Regions from separate parts of the Homo sapiens genome. Here region 2 is linked to region 1. Evidence: promoter capture Hi-C in 16 types of primary human blood cells and fetal thymus (Javierre and others, 2016). All regions are on one chromosome and are shown on one strand. Each heading gives the region's core, a stretch centred on a gene start or on the middle of the fragment in contact. The rest is flanking DNA. Distances are from core to core; before and after follow the strand shown. Region 1 holds the start of ESYT2 (extended synaptotagmin 2). Region 2 overlaps INSIG1-DT (INSIG1 divergent transcript).

Evidence for each region. The method cuts DNA at HindIII sites, captures the fragments that hold promoters and counts their contacts. A CHiCAGO score of 5 or more calls a contact.
Region 2: a fragment that was not itself captured here is called in contact with the fragment with the promoter of ESYT2 in region 1 in 2 of 17 cell types (M0 macrophages and monocytes); the score reaches 5.5 in M0 macrophages.

Annotation. Positions count from the first base shown.
Region 1 is chr7:158,825,801-158,833,417 of GRCh38, reverse strand. ESYT2 (extended synaptotagmin 2) reads left to right here and starts at 3,909. Exons shown (of 23, transcript NM_001367773.1): 1 at 3,909-4,329. The coding sequence starts at 4,000. RefSeq lists enhancers at 2,946-3,055, 5,066-5,135 and silencers at 3,366-4,095, 4,186-4,285, 4,336-4,525, 4,616-4,665, 4,746-4,945. The HindIII fragment of the contact is 12,010 bases long and covers 1-7,617 here.
Region 2 is chr7:155,287,708-155,295,324 of GRCh38, reverse strand. It overlaps INSIG1-DT (INSIG1 divergent transcript), which reads left to right. Exons shown (of 2, transcript NR_183448.1): 2 at 6,461-6,729. Among named protein-coding and RNA genes, the nearest start is that of INSIG1, 6.4 kb to the left of the region's middle. RefSeq lists a cis regulatory region at 3,771-4,370. The HindIII fragment of the contact is 8,705 bases long and covers 1-7,617 here.

The DNA.
Region 1 (7,617 bases), core at 2,660-5,159:
CTTCAGTCTCATATAATCTGGAACAATTCTTAGTCTTATCCTGTCTCTTATGACAATTTATTTATTTGAGAAGGGGTTTCCCTCTGTCACTCAGGCTAGAGTGCAGTGGTGCAATCATAGCTCACTGCAGCCTTGAATTCCTGGGCTCAAGCAATACTCTTGCCTCAGCCTTAGTAGCTGGGACTACAGGCTCGTGCCACCATGCCAGGGCAATTTTTAAGATTTTTTTTTGTAAAGATGGAGTCTTACTACATTGCCCAGGCTGGTCTCGAACTCCCAGCCTCAAGTGATCCTTCTGCCTCAGTCTCCCAAAGCGTGAGCCACTGTTCCTGGCTCATGACAGTAATAAAGAAAACAGAATGGCCTTCCTTCTGGGTCTATCTGATATTCCCTAGGCTAGACTGAGGCTGTGGTTTCTGGCAGAAAAGTGTCAGGCGTGCTGCTGTGCTCTTCTCAGCACAGTGCACGGGGACTCAGTTTCAACTTTTCTCCACTGGTGACAGGTGTCTCATTACCTGGCCACGCTGGTGTCTGCTGGTGTTTCCCACCAGAAAGTCTCAATTTTCCTCTTTGTAATGGAAAAGTATGCTGAAGAAAGATGTCCATTCTCATTCCTCATCAAATCTCCACCTACCACCCTGAGCCTCCATTGATAGCTCACTCCTGCAACAACCCCACTACAGTGATTGGTAAATGGTTATTTCCATTCTCACTCCTGCAACAACCCCACTACAGTGATTGGTAAATGGTTATTTCCATTCTCATAATTCCTTCTCCATTTATGAGTTCACATTCTACTGTAAAGAAGAACCTCCCCTTCTCCACTATTATTTTCCCTGCATTCATCACTGGTTTGTTGATCTACATCAGTGTGGACTCAACTCATGCGTTTCTATTTTGCTCACTCAGTGGTAATCTGCCAATATCATTCTTTGTTTTGTTGCTCAAATTGTCCTAGATTTCGCCAGCAAGAACTCCCTCCAACTACTTTCCATGTCCTTTGATCTCCTGTCAATCTTTGAGCACTTCTTCACTTCCTTGAACAACAAAATTATTCCAGGATCATCTTGTACTTCCACTCCAGCCCTGAAATTAACCATTTCTCCAAAGAGCCCTGATTCCTTTTGTTGGAAAACCTTATTTAGAAGATAAGATCTGGGGGCTAGCTGTGATCACTGGTACTGGGGTACCATTGCATCTAGATACTCAGCAGACAGAACTAGAAACTATTTCTGTGTTTATATGCACATATACCTACACATGTGTGCACACACATACAGCTATCTTTATATCTATCTGTATATACATATTTTAAAAAAATGAGTTCATACTACCACTTCCAGTTCCAATCCAATCCCTCAGTGTTCTTTTTAGCCTTCCCTCTTCCATGTTTTTACCTTCTCCAACAGCAAGAAACCTGGCTTTCACTGTCCCCAGTATATTTAATTTGCTGGTATAACCTCCAAATTGAAGAGATGCAGAGCACGTGCTCCCACCCTCCATAACGAGACGTATTTAGAGGTGTGGGGGAGGACCCAAAAGCAGGAAGAGTTGAACCTAAGCACAAGATAGCACTTTCCTCTGAAACCAGGAAGGCTGGAACTTCGCAGCTGTGCACCGGAGCACTCGGAATGACACTCCAGAGAAAGCAGCACTTCTCCTTGTCTACAAGAAGGAAAGGATGGAGGGGTCATGAAAGGTCACAGGAGATTGAGGGGTATAATATTAGCAAAAATCTAAGAGCCGAGCTGGACCTGCAGTCAGACCAGACACCTGTAAGACTGAGCTGTGGCAGAGCCTTAGGATCTGCTTTCTGCAGGCAATTAACCACAGGGAGGGGCTGGAAACCCGGGGCTCACACAGAGGGAAGCTGAGGACACTTGGGCTGACTGGTATGCAACATGGAAACTTCTCTTCAATCTAGTTTACATCCTTGGGTCAACCACTGGATGGCACATGGCACAGGATTTTTTTTTTTTTCTTGAGACGTAGTCTTGCTCTGTCGCCCAGGCTGGAGTGCAGTGGTGCGATCTCGACTCACTGCAACCTCCGCCTCCCGGGTTCAAGTAATTCTCCTGCCTCAGCCTCCCGAGTAGCTGGGACTCCAGGTGCGCGCCGCCATGCGCGGCTAATTTTTTGTTATTTTTAGTAGAGACGGGGTTTCACCATGTTGGCCAGGATGGTCTTGATCTCCTGACCTCGTGATCTGCCCTCCTCGGCCTCCCAAAGTGCTGGGATTACAGAATTTTTTACGTGGCTTATGTTTATGCAAGTCTTTGTAGGATGTGATCCTACAATTTTCCAGTAGAGGAAAGCTGCAAAAGAAAGGCTCAGGCTCCTTTCTGTGTCAACAAAGCAATTACTTGCTTTTGTGTTGAGGCTTAGTTTTGAATGAAAGGTGGTGTTAGGAGCATTAACCGGTTGCATATTTACAATCTACATAATATAATTTGTTGCTGCAGCAAACCAGGGACTGTGAAGAGTAAGAAAAGGGAAACCACTTCCATTCCTTGCTTGGGGTTTACTGCCCTTGCCTGGAGTTGAGAGTTTAGACTCTGCAATGTTTTACATATGTGATATAATCTCCACATACATATGCACACAAAATTATGAAGACGCAGGAACGAGGGGAGACAGATTCCTATGTAAAGGTGACCCTGCTTCTTCTGGGCATTTGTTTATTCATTCAGTACCTGCCAGTGCCCTACTCTGTTACAAATTCAGTAAAAATTTCCTTGGAATTCACTGAATATGCTCAAAAACAGTCAAGTAGGATGTTCTTTGCTACTGTTTGGCTTGGAGTTTCCTTGAAAGAAACTACAGAACAAATATAATTAACTCGATTGAATTCACTGGAAAGTAAAGTGATCAATAGTTGTGTTTTTGAGTTAACTGAAAAGTGACCTCAGGAATCACAGGAAAGGCCCAAAATTAGTCGTTTGAAACAGCTATTCATAGTTGGCCACAATATTAACACCTTCGGCGAAGCTGCGTGGTGCCCGGGGTGGAGTTCCCGAGTGTCAACAGCGTCCCTTGGGCGCTTGCGGTGGTCTTTGCCCGGCACTACCAGACCCCTCAGGGAGGACTTTTGGGATTAAAGGCATCTTAAAAGCCAACTGAACTGTGTGAGAGTTGTCAAGGTCACAACGGAGTCGTTTGTGTTTAAAACCCTGACAAGCAGGGTGGGAAGGGCCCCAGAGGCAGCGTTCTCACGCCGGAATGCCCGATAACAAGACCGTCCCGAGAGACTCCGCAAAAGCCACAACCTTGCACACTGGCTAGGCAACCTCACACCGAAAAATACCGGAGGACTCCCGCCAGCGGCGCCCGTCCGACCTCCGGCGGGCGGCGCCCTCTCACCCGTCCTCCTGGCCGCAAAATGACCGCAAACAGGGACGCCGCCCTCTCATCCCACCGCCACCCCGGCTGCGCTCAGCGGCCGCGCACCCCCACGTTTGCCAGCAGCTCCCAGAGGCGGTCAGCCTTTGGGTTTGACGACGGCAACTTCCCGGGCCTCGGCGAGCGCAGCCACGCACCCGGAAGCCGCCTCGGGGCGCGACGCCGAGCCAAAACCGCCCGCGGGCTCCGAGGCCACAGGCAAGTGGGGAGGGTGCCCCGTGGGGCTCGAGGGGACGCAGGCACGCCCAGCCCACGCACCGAGCACTCTCCTTTCCCGTCCCCGGCTCCCGCCAGCCGAGACACAACGCTCGCGTGATGACGTCGTGCGCCTGCCCGGCCCACTCCAGTAGTCTCCGACCCGGCCCACGGCCCGCCCCGCGCGATGACGTCAGTATCCACCCCGCCCGCTCCCGGTGACGTGCCAGCCCCAGGCCCACGCCGCTCCCGCCCCGCGTGATGACGCCACCGTCCCGGGCGGAGGCGGGCGTGCGGCGGAGCCGCGTCCCCTCAGAGGGGCGCTGGCGCGGGGCTGAGCCGCCCGGGATCAGCGCGAGCACCCAGCCCGCCTCGGCCGGGAGGGCAGCGCGGCACTGCGGGGCGATGAGCGGCGCCCGGGGCGAGGGCCCGGAGGCGGGCGCCGGCGGGGCTGGGGGCCGCGCGGCGCCTGAGAACCCCGGGGGCGTGCTGAGCGTGGAGCTGCCCGGGCTGCTGGCGCAGCTGGCGCGGAGCTTCGCGCTGCTGCTGCCCGTGTACGCGCTGGGCTACCTGGGGCTCAGCTTCAGCTGGGTTCTCCTCGCGCTCGCGCTGCTCGCCTGGTGTCGCCGCAGCCGCGGCCTCAAGGCCCTGCGCCTGTGCCGCGCGCTGGCGCTGCTGGAAGACGAGGAGCGCGTCGTGCGCCTGGGGGTGCGCGCCTGCGACCTGCCCGCCTGGGTGAGTGCAGACCCCTGCCCGTCCCGACCCCTGACCACCAGTCCCGATCTCCCCTCGTCCAGGCAGGCACTCCCCTCCCCGCGACCTGCCGCCTGGGTGAGTGCAGACCCCAGCCCTGCCCCGGCTCCCGCCTTCGTAGTCCCCCACCCACCCCGGTCCAGGCAGGCGCTTCCCTTCCGCCTGGGCGAGTGCAGACCCCAGCCCCGGCCCCCGGGCCGGTTCCTGCGACCTGCCAACCTAGGTGAGTGCAGACCCCGCCCCGCCCCCCGGCCCCGACTCCCAGCCTGCTGGCGACCTGCCCGCTAGGGCGAGTGCAGACCCCAGCCCCGCCCCGGCCTCCGGCCCACTCCCTGCGAACCTGTCCGCCTGGGGCCGCCGCCCGCTGCTCGCCGCTCCCGCCCTAGTCCTGAGTGCTCCGTGCCCTCCCTCCGTCCAAGTCGGGCGTCCCCTTCTCCGCTTCCCCGCCCGCCCAGGCTCCGGGTCCGGGGCGCGTCTGCCCTCGTGAAGCCTCCCCTCGCCGTCCCGCGCGGCTTTCTCGGAGACCCCTCTTCACAAAGCCCGCTTCCCTCCCCCGGCCTGCAGACCCCGAGCGCCAGCGGCAGGTACCGGGCTTGGCGCCCCCTCTTCGGCCGCGGCCCTGCCCGGAGCGCGCGCTTCCTCCTGGTGCCGCCCGCGGGGTCTCCTTAGGGGCCTGAGCGGCCGGTTCTGCTCTCAGAGCGCCCAGCGCGATTCTCGTGCGCATTCCCAAAGCCCTGCCGGCCTGGAAATGCTCCGGGTGGCTTCAGCTTTTCCTTCTCTCTGTTTTTTAAAAAACGTAATGACAGCTGGTGGGGGAGAAGTTAACTTTTTCTTCTACCGGGAGAAGACGCACTCGTGTCTTGGTTGTTTCTGACGCATTTCAAGGGCAGTAAGTGTCTCTCGAAAGATGTGGAGATATTAGATAATTGAAAGATTGTTTCAGTTTTTTTGCAAGTATAATTGTGAGACTGAGCATTTTTATATGGGATCGACCTGAATCCAGTGTGAATGTGTGTGTGTGTGGCAGGAAGTTTTGGAAGAGTTGCAGCAATAACAAGAGTCATGGTATTATTTTATTTTTAACCCGGCAGTTCTCTACCTCGTATATTTATGGACTATAGACACGAAGAGTTGGCTTCAAATCTTTTTCTTGTCATTCCCTAATTCTTTCTTAGCCATGACTTGGCTTCACAGTTTCACACTGCAAGAAAGGATTTTAATGATTCTTCCATTAGGCTTAATATAAACTTTGGGGTGAAGGTGACCAGCAGTGGGTTTCGGAAGGGTCATTTTCTCTTAGAGGAGAAAAGTCCCTGTTTCCAGTCATGAGACACCTGAGAAGTAAGGCATGACACAGATGGCAAACAAGAATTAGAAAGGAGGCGTGCCCAAGACAAGAAGAAGGTAGTAGATGCTACTTTGTGACGTCATATTGCAACTGGAGTAAGAATATAATGTAAGGAGCTTGGGAATGTACAGTTCTGCCGATGCGTGGTGAGCATGAGGGAGTCATATTTGGAGAACCAAGGTAACTGGCATGGTGCAGCTTTTAGCTAGCGGCGGGAAAAACCGAGGGGTGTGTAGAAAAAGGAAGTTAAGAGGAACCGAGGTGGGGAAAACTAAGAACAGAGGAGGTGCACTTTGGAAATGGAAAAGGACTTTAAAGTGACGTTTTGTGTCTATATTACACTAAGATGCATAATACTAAAAAGTAGCTAAAAACAGAGTCCATTAGCATCCATTGCTATGTTATATTGATAACATAGCAATGTTATCAGTGCTGAAATTTGCAGGAAGTGATGATGCTGACTTTCATAGATACTTGGTTATTGGCTAATATCAAATTTGCTTGTTAAAAATCTTTGTGAAACACAGATTTTCTTTTTCTTTTCTTTTTTTTTTTTTTTTGAGACAGAGCCTCTCCCTGTTGCCCAGGCTGGAGTGCAATGGCGTGATCTCGGCTCACTACAACCTCCGCCTCCAGGGTTCAAAAGATTCTCCTGCCTCAGCCTCCCGAGTAGCTGGGATTACAGGCGTGCACCATCACGCCCAGCTAATCTTTGTATTTTTAGTAGAAACAGGGTTTCACCATGTTGGCCAGGCTGGTCTCAAACTCCTGACCTTGTGTTCCGCCTGCCTTGGCCTCCCCAAGTGCAGGGATTACAGGCGTGAGCCACCGCGCCCGGCCACACAGACTGTACAGATGAAATTGCTGCCCTATTGAAGAACTGAAATTTTTTTTTTTTTTTTTGAGACGGAATCTCGCTCTGTTGCCAGGCTGAAGTGCAGTGGCACCATCTCAACTCACTGCAACCTCCGCCTCCCGGGTTCAAGCCATTCTCCTGCCTCAGCCTCCCGAATAGCTGGGACTACAGGCGCACACCACCACACCCAGTTAATTTTTGTATTTTTAGTAGAGACTGGGTTTCACCATGTTGGCCAGGATGGTCTCGATCTCTTGACCTCGTGATCCACCCGCCTCAGCCTCCTAAAGTGCTGGGATTACAGGTGTGAGCCACTGCGCCCAGCCTGAAATTCTTTAAAAAAAAAAAAAATACAAAAGTAATTTAGCCAAAGATTCTTTTCAAGTTTTTAATCTGTGTGACTTAAACTGATGAACTGTGGTGTTCACCTCATGAAGAATTTATATTTTCTCCAGAATGTTTTACTTGTTTATTCCAAATTTGTACTTGAGCTCATAATCCCACATGTGTAAACTTCAGTGTGCCTAGGATGCTTAAGACGCTTCTTGAAGGATTCACATGAAACTTGACAGTGATTATGTTGACAGTTTTAGAGAGATTTTAAAAATATCTTTTAAATTATACTTATGTATCTATTTTGTGATATTTATTAAAAGTGTAATATACTTTATTTTCATAATAAAACCAGCAGGTTGCATGGTCTCGAAGTGTGCCTGAAATTCTGCTGCGCGGCAGGGGTGGTGGGGGTGGTCAAAGCACATCAATAATAGAAGAAACTATGAATAAGAAAAGTTAAGATTTCAGTATTACTTGCACTTTGGGTTTGTTTTTGTTTTTTTTTTTTTCTAGAGATGAGTTCTTACCGCGTTGTCCAGGCTGGTCTCAAACTTTTGGCCTCGAGGCATCCTCCCACTTAGACTTCCTAAAGTGTGGGGATTACAGGTGTGAGCCACCATGCCTGGCCAATATTACTAGTACCTTGATTTTTACCATACATACATTGGTGCTTGGGGTTTCTGAACTTTGGACTGGTATTTTGCCTTGAACAAGATGTATCTGTACATCC
Region 2 (7,617 bases), core at 2,113-4,612, 3.5 Mb after region 1:
ATTGTTGAGTTAAACACCTCGCCGTGCCTTCCCAGATCACTAAGTAACCCTCAGACTGGTGGCCTCTGTACTGAACAGGCTGGCGGAAGGGAGCACAGGACGGCTGTAGCTCTTTCGGATACGGAAGAATCATGCACTCATAAAGGCCTAAAGACTGGGAGGTGTCACGTAGTGAGCAATCTTGCCTTTAGTCTGTTCTTACTGTTCTTTTTATTATAACATTAATAACCATTTGTAAGAAATATTCTTAAGATAAAGTAGATTACCAAATATATATTTTTTCATATAAAAGCATCACATGCTCATTGTAAAACATCGTGGAAAAATATATTTTAAAGAAATAGTCTATAATCCTACCAACTAGAGATGACCATTGTTAACATTTTGAGGTATGTATTTCCAAATATTTTTTCTATCCATAAATGTGTTTAAAAAAACACAAATAGGATCAACTTCACATTAGTGGAACCAGTTATTAAGTGATCATGAACGTCTTTTAAAGGCAATCAATACAGACTACGCCATTTTTTAATAGCTTTAGTGAGGGCGAATTCATGCATTGTGCAATTCACCCATTTAAACGGTGAATTCAGTGTTTTTTTGTGTATTCACAGAGTTGTACAACTATCATCACAGTCCATTTTAGAACATTTTCATCACCCCAGAAAAGACCTTCATATGCTTTAGTTATTGCCTCCTTATCCCGACTTCCACCCCCAGCCCACGGCAACCACTGATCTACTTCCTGTCTCTATGGATTTCCTGTTCTGGACATTCGTATGAATGGAATCGTATAATATGTGATGTTTTGTGACTGGCTTTGTTGACATAATGTTTTCAAGGTTCATCCATGTCATAGCATATGTCAGCACTTCATCCCTTTTTATGGCTGAATAATGTTCCATTGTATGGAGAGGCCACATTTTGATTATCCGTTCACCAGCTAGTGGACGTTTGGGTTGTTCTCACTTTTCGGCTATTACGAATGATGTTGCTATAAATGTGCACAAGCTCATCCATGTGGGTGTAGCTCTTCATTTCTCTTGGGTGGAGTTACTAGGAGTGCACTTGCTGGGTCACATGGTAACTCTATGTTTAATCATTTGAGGAACTGCTGGACTTTTTCCAAAGCAGCTGCATGATTTTAAACCTCCATCAGCAGGGTATGAGGGTTCTGATTTCTCCACATCTTTGCCAACACTTGTTATTCCTTGAGTTTTTGATTCTAGCCATCTCAGTGGATGTGAAGTGGTATGTCATCGTTTTCAAAAGCAGAATAGTGTTTGTCTATGAAGGGAAGTGCCTTAGCTTACTTGCCATGAAAGCACAATCCCCCAAGAGTGAGGGAAAGAGGTGAGTGAAGCAGTGAAGGAGAAGCTATGGTGAGGGTCACCTCACTGAGCCGACCATGGCTGTTGCGTGACATGTGGTTGCTAGTCACACAGGGTACCTTCTGTACAGGCTGTGGAGACCCACCATGCCTTGCAAGAACAGTCCTTTGGGGGAAAAGAAAGAAAAGAAATGCATCTGGTAGCTCTCTATCTTCCGTCTCTTACTGGCCCCAGTTTACCCCTCCTTCATTAACTCTTTCAGTTTTCCTGATTCTAATACAGTCATACACTGCACGATGACATTTCCATCAGTGATAGGCTGCATATACGATGGTGGGCCCATGTAATGCCATATGTTTACTGCACCTCTTCTACGTTTAGATATGTGTAGATGCACACATCCTCGCCATTGGGTTCCACTTGCCCACAGTATGCAGTACAGTCACATGCTGCACAGGTGTACGAGGAATGCCCTCCAGCCTAGGTGTGTAGTGGGCTCTACTGTCTCAATTTATGTAAATGCACTCAATGGTGTCTGCATGAAAAATCTCCTAACAATGCATTTCTCAGAATACATGCTCGTTGTTACGCGACACATGACTATACTCAGCCCCACGCTGCGGCTGATGGGACAACCAGATTCCACAGCCAACAGTGGACTCATCCTCAGAGCCCCAAGTGGTAAGAAGACCCCAGAGCTGCTTCTGCAAGTCAAGTTGGTCAGACTGTCCATGCCTATATTGATCACTGGAAAGGGGAGTAGAACAGTTATGATTGGCAGAGAGATGACCCTCCAATGTGAAGAGCTGTTGGTGAATCCATCGCAGAGACCACTGCAGATGGTGACTCTGCATTGGAGTGGAGGGTGGGCCAAGGCAGACTGTGTAGGATGAGAAGTCAGTGTGCCTCGTACAGCCCTGAGGCTGGAGCAGAGGAAAGGGGCTGCCAGGGGCAGTGGCAGAAGGTCCAGTAAGATAGGAAGAAAGTGTGCGACCAAGAAATCCGGGGGGGGGATGTTCTGGAAAGGAGAAAGTGGCAGCCATGGCATGCAAGACAGAGACCAATCATGTCTGGGGGTCCTGTGATGTGGTCAGCAGGAAGCTCGGTGTGAGTGGCCTGAGTCACGGGGGAAGCTGCGCTTCCATGAGATAAGGAGACAAGGAAAATGAGGCTGCCAGTGAAGATCCCTCTGGAAGGGGTCTGGCTGTGAGAAGGAGGGGAGAGATGATGGAAGCTGGAGGAGAGAGTGATGGGGAAAGAGTTTAGTTTGTCTGTCTGTTTGTTTGTTTATTTTGAGACAGAGTCTTGCTCTGTCAGCCAGGCTGGAGTGCAGTGGCTCGATCTCAGCTCATGCAACCTCCACCTCCCTGGTTCAAGGGATTCTCCCTCCTTAGCCTCCCACTCAGGATTACAGGCACCTGCCACCACACCCGGTTAAGTTTTGTATTTTTGTAGAGACAGGGTTTCACCATGTTGGCCAGGCTGGTCTTGAACCCCTGACCTCAGGTGATCTGCCCGCCCAAAGTGTTGGGATTACAGGCATGAGCCACGGCGCCCAGCCTGTTTTGTTTTAAAAAATGAGAGACGTGAACAAATATAAACGCTGATGGACCCAGTAGAAAGATTGAAGAAGAAGGGCAGGGCGTGGTGTCTCACGCCTGTAATCCCAGCACTTTGGGAAGCTGAGGCAGGTGGATCACGAAGTCAGGAGTTCGAGACCAGCCTGACCAACATGGTGAAACCCCGTCTGTATTAAAAATACAAAAATTAGCCAGGCGTGGTGGCACATGCCTGTAATCCCAGCTACTCGGGAGGCTGAGGCAGGAGAATCGCTTGAACCCAGGAGGTGGAGGTTGCAGTGAGCCGAGATTGCTCCATTGCCCTCCAGCGTGGGTGACAAGAGTGAGACTCTGTCTCAAAAATAATAATAATAAAATAAAGAAAGACTGAAGAAGAGGGAGTGAGAGCAGGCAGTGGAGAGTGAGGTCCCTGAGGAGAAGATTAGAGGAGGAGATTGGTGTCTAGGACCAATCCTAGTGGGGATTCCTGGGCAGGCACACCCTCTACTGAGGAAGTAGGTGGGAGAGATGGGGGCGGTGTGGTGGGGTCGCCTTCCCCTCAGGAAGTTTCTGTCATTTCTGAAGAAGGAGGAGAGCTCCTGAGTTAAGAGGGAGACAGGAGCGATTGGAAACTGGGAGTGTAAACCCTTTGGTGTGGAGTGCCTGGTGGAGGTTTGTGATGGCGACTTCACAGGGCCCAATCTGCAGGGTGGCGTGGGAGTTCTTCTCTACGACACTCCAGGCTGGGTAGCAATGGCAGAGCATTCGAGGGGCCTCTAGAATTGGTTTTTTCCTGGTGGTGCCAAGGAGGGGCAATGGAGCAGTGGAGGGCAGGTTAGCGGCAGGCGGCTGGTGGCGTCATGGAACCTGGGTCAGGTGAAATGGAGGTGAAAGGAGTATGCCGGGAGGAAGAGGGCCCCACAGAGGGAAGGGTCAGTGTGTAGAGGCTTGCCCTATGTGAACACTGGGTATTGGCCCTACAAGGGTAGCAATATTCATTGATTAATGCAACCCAAGCTCCCACAGATTCATTACTGGATGGGTGATCTGAAGGCGAGAGCCTGGGCAGGAGGAGGCTGTGTGGGCACATGGCGTCAGGGGAGAGCCACTGCAGAGGGTGGCAGTCCCCACGATGAGCCTGGGATTGGGTGGCTGGAGTGGTGTGGAGTGAGTCACCAGGGCCAAGGAGGTCAGGGAACCCAGAGGCGAGGCCTTGGATGAGTCATGCTTGAGTGGGACGAAGTCCTCAGCACAATGACAGGTTTGGGATATGGAGACAGACTGTGTGTCAGGTGTCTGAGTCCCTGGGGAGTGAAGGCAGCAGATAGCAGTGGCAGAGGGGGTGCACTGGGTGGGATGGTGTGCCCCCAAATTCATGTCCTTCTGGGAACCTCAGAATGTGACCTTATTTGGAAATCGAGTCTTTGGAGATGTAATGAGTTAAGATGAGTTCCCACTGGAGTAGGGTGGGCCCAAATCCAACATGACTGTTTCCTCCTAAGAAGAGGAGGTGAGACCCAGAGACAGACATGCAGGAGAAGCCGTGTGAGGACGGAGGCGGACATGCGCCATGGTTTGCTGGGAGCCACCAGAGGCCGGAAGGAGTAAGGAAGGATTGTCCCGTAGGGCTCTCACAGGGAGCAGGGCCTGGAAACACCTTGCTTTCAGCCTTCTGTCCTCCGGGACTGGGAGGGATGTGGAGCATGGAGCAGGAAGGAGTGAGGGGCGGAGGGGCCAGGGGCTTGCCACCTGTGTGGTCATGTCAGGCCTTGGCCCCACGGTCGGTGGCTACCACCCAAAATATAGACACACCATATAATCTGTGTTACTCAATTTCACGGCACCTGAAAGATGAGTGTTCTCTCTATCTGGTGAAGAACGTGAAGAAATGGAGTCCTGAAGCAAGCAATGTGCTCAAAGCTGTGACAATGCTGAGGGGCAGAGCAGGGGTTCAGATCCAGCCTCCCTGAGTCCATAGCTGGGCTCCCCGCACCCCCATTGCTCTCACCCCTGGAGTTCCTGCTGTGCCCCAGGCACTGTGCTAGAGATACACAAGGGCTCTTGCTGCATGGTCCTGGAGCTGCTCACAAACTAATGGGGGAGAAGGACCTAGGAGGAGGCTCCCGGCACTGCTGTGACAAATGACCACAAACACGGTGGCCCTGCACAGCACGCATGTGTCATCTCAGAGCTCTGGGGGTTGGGTGCCTGAACTGGGTTTCGCTGCAGTAAGATCAAGGCGCTGGCAGGCTGGGTTCCTTCTGGAGACTCCAGGGGGTCTGTTCCCTCGCCCTTCCCAGCACCCAGAGGCTGCCTGCCTTCCCTGCTCATGGCCCTGTCGTGGTATCACTCTGGCCTCCTGCTCACTTCGAAGGGCCTGGAGTTAGGTGGGACTTGCCTGAATAACCCAGGTAGTATGAGCTGAGTGTCTGTGTCCTCCCAAATTCATACGTTGAAAGCCGCACCCCAAGGCAATGGTGCCAGGAGGTGGGGCCTTTGGGAGGTGCTGAGGTCATGAGGGTGGAGCCATTGTGAATGGGGTCGGGGCCCTGAAGAGAGAGCCCCAGAGAGCTCCCTGGCCCCTTCACCATGTGAGGATGCAGGAGAAGGCGCCATCTCTGAACTAGAAAGTGGCCCTCGCCAGACACTGTCTCCCAGTGCCCTGAGCTTGGACTTCCAGCCTCCGGCACTGTGAGAAATGAATATCTGCTGTTTATAAGCCCAGTCGCTGGTACTTTGTTAGAGCTCCCCGCATGGGCTTAGACACCAGCAGAATCTCCTCATCCCAGGATCTTTAATCGAGTTTGCAAAGTCCCCTCACCATGTAACATCACACATTCACGAATTCCAGGGATTAGACTGTGGACTTTTGGGAGCGGACTGATATTCTGCCTACCACAGACATGAAAACATCATTTCGATGCATTTTGGTGATTTTTATCATAGAAATTCATAGACAGGCGGTGCTATGGAAACACAGAAGAGGGACAATTAGAAAATGCCTCTCAGGAGATGTGACATTTGAGCTCAGTCTCGAAAGATGAATTTGTCACCCAGAGAAGGAGCAAAGCCATTCCAGCAGAGGAACAACTTGCGCAGAGGCGTGAGGCCCTCGGGGGATTCTGAGCACGTGGGAGACAGAGTGGAGAAGTCAGCTGGGCTGAAGCCTGGGGACAGGCTAAGCAGCTTAGCCTTTGTCCCGGGAGCTGGTGTGGCTAAGTCTTTTTTGATCATCTGTTTCAGTTGGCTGATGTTTACCTTGTTCTCCCCAATACATATATCAATGTATTTACTACATATATATATATATATAGCTGTCCTCATATCTTATATGCACTACATGATATATTATAAATAGATATTTAATTACAGAGCCTCTTGAATTTTAGCCGAACCAGCTAAAGACTGGGCACCAGCTAGACTGAACTTCTCAGCGGTTGGTGTGGCCATGAGCCTAAATTTGGGCCAGTGGGCAGTGGGCAGGTGGGTTGTTTGCAACTCCCAGTCACTCTCTGAAGATGAAGGCGCTTCCCTGGACTCCCTCTTGATCTCTGTTTTTTCCTCCAGCAGGGAGTGTGGGTGTGGCAGCAACCCAGCATCTACCATGCCGACCATGTGCCATGCCATGCACCGCGTGTCGTAACAGGACAACAGAGCAAGAGACCCAGCAGACAGGGGTCCCCAGCAACCTCATGAAGCGCCATCCACTCACCTCCAGACAGTCTGGGGAGAGAGACTGAAACTTCTGTCTAAGCCACTTCATCTTTGATCTCCTTGTTTTTGTGGTTCAGGTTGTATCTTAATAAATAAAACGTGTTTGAGTTCATGTTTACATCCAACCATTAAAAAAGTATATTTTGCCATGAGATAAACAATGAGACCCTGCACGAGATGAAATATTTCCATGGTCACTCGTCATCTCCTTACAGAGAATTACTAAGATTTTATTAAAACAGTGTAGATTATGAGAGTATGGTGACTCTAAAGTGAAGTTTACATTCAGATGACCCCCAGGCCCGCGTATGGAGCTCCGGTTCTGTAGCTGAAGATGGGACAGAGGTGCAGGGAGAGCTGCAGTCGCGTTCTCGGAGGCATGGCCCCGTGTTGATCGGACACGTCATGTTCAGTCAGTGCCATGCAGGTGTGCAGCGGACGGTCTGGCTGAGGCCGGGGGTGCCACGGTCCCCCCGTCTGCTGAGTAGTAGCAAAGCTGAATATTTTCCTGGAAACATTTTGTGCGCCCCTGGGGTGTGCTGCTGGGGACAATGGGAAGTCTTTGGAACTCAGGAGCAGCGCACGCTTGGTATTTGTGCTGGAAGATGACCAGCCACAGACTGGAGATCAGGATGGCCCGAGACCAGGGCCACTGCTGACCCTGGGCAGGGAGGACACAGTGTGGCAGAGGCCTGCATTGGTGGGATGGGAGGAGGCCTTGCTGGAGAGCTCAGAGGTGGAATATGGTGGTCTCATGTGGCTTCTCTTACCACAGACCCCAAGACAAAGGTGCCCACTGGTGGGAGGCTATGACCATTGTGCTGAGTCGCACGACCTGGAGCATCTCTGAGAGAGCAGAACTCACCGTCCCCACTGCATAGCTCTTCAGGCCCAGGGCTTTCGAGGAAGAAACAGGTGATCATCTTCCACCTGGCAGCTCCCAGGAGACGGGTGGGGTCAGTGGACCCTGTTCGCAGAACTAAAGGCGGGAAGACCGTGGCTTCCATTCACCT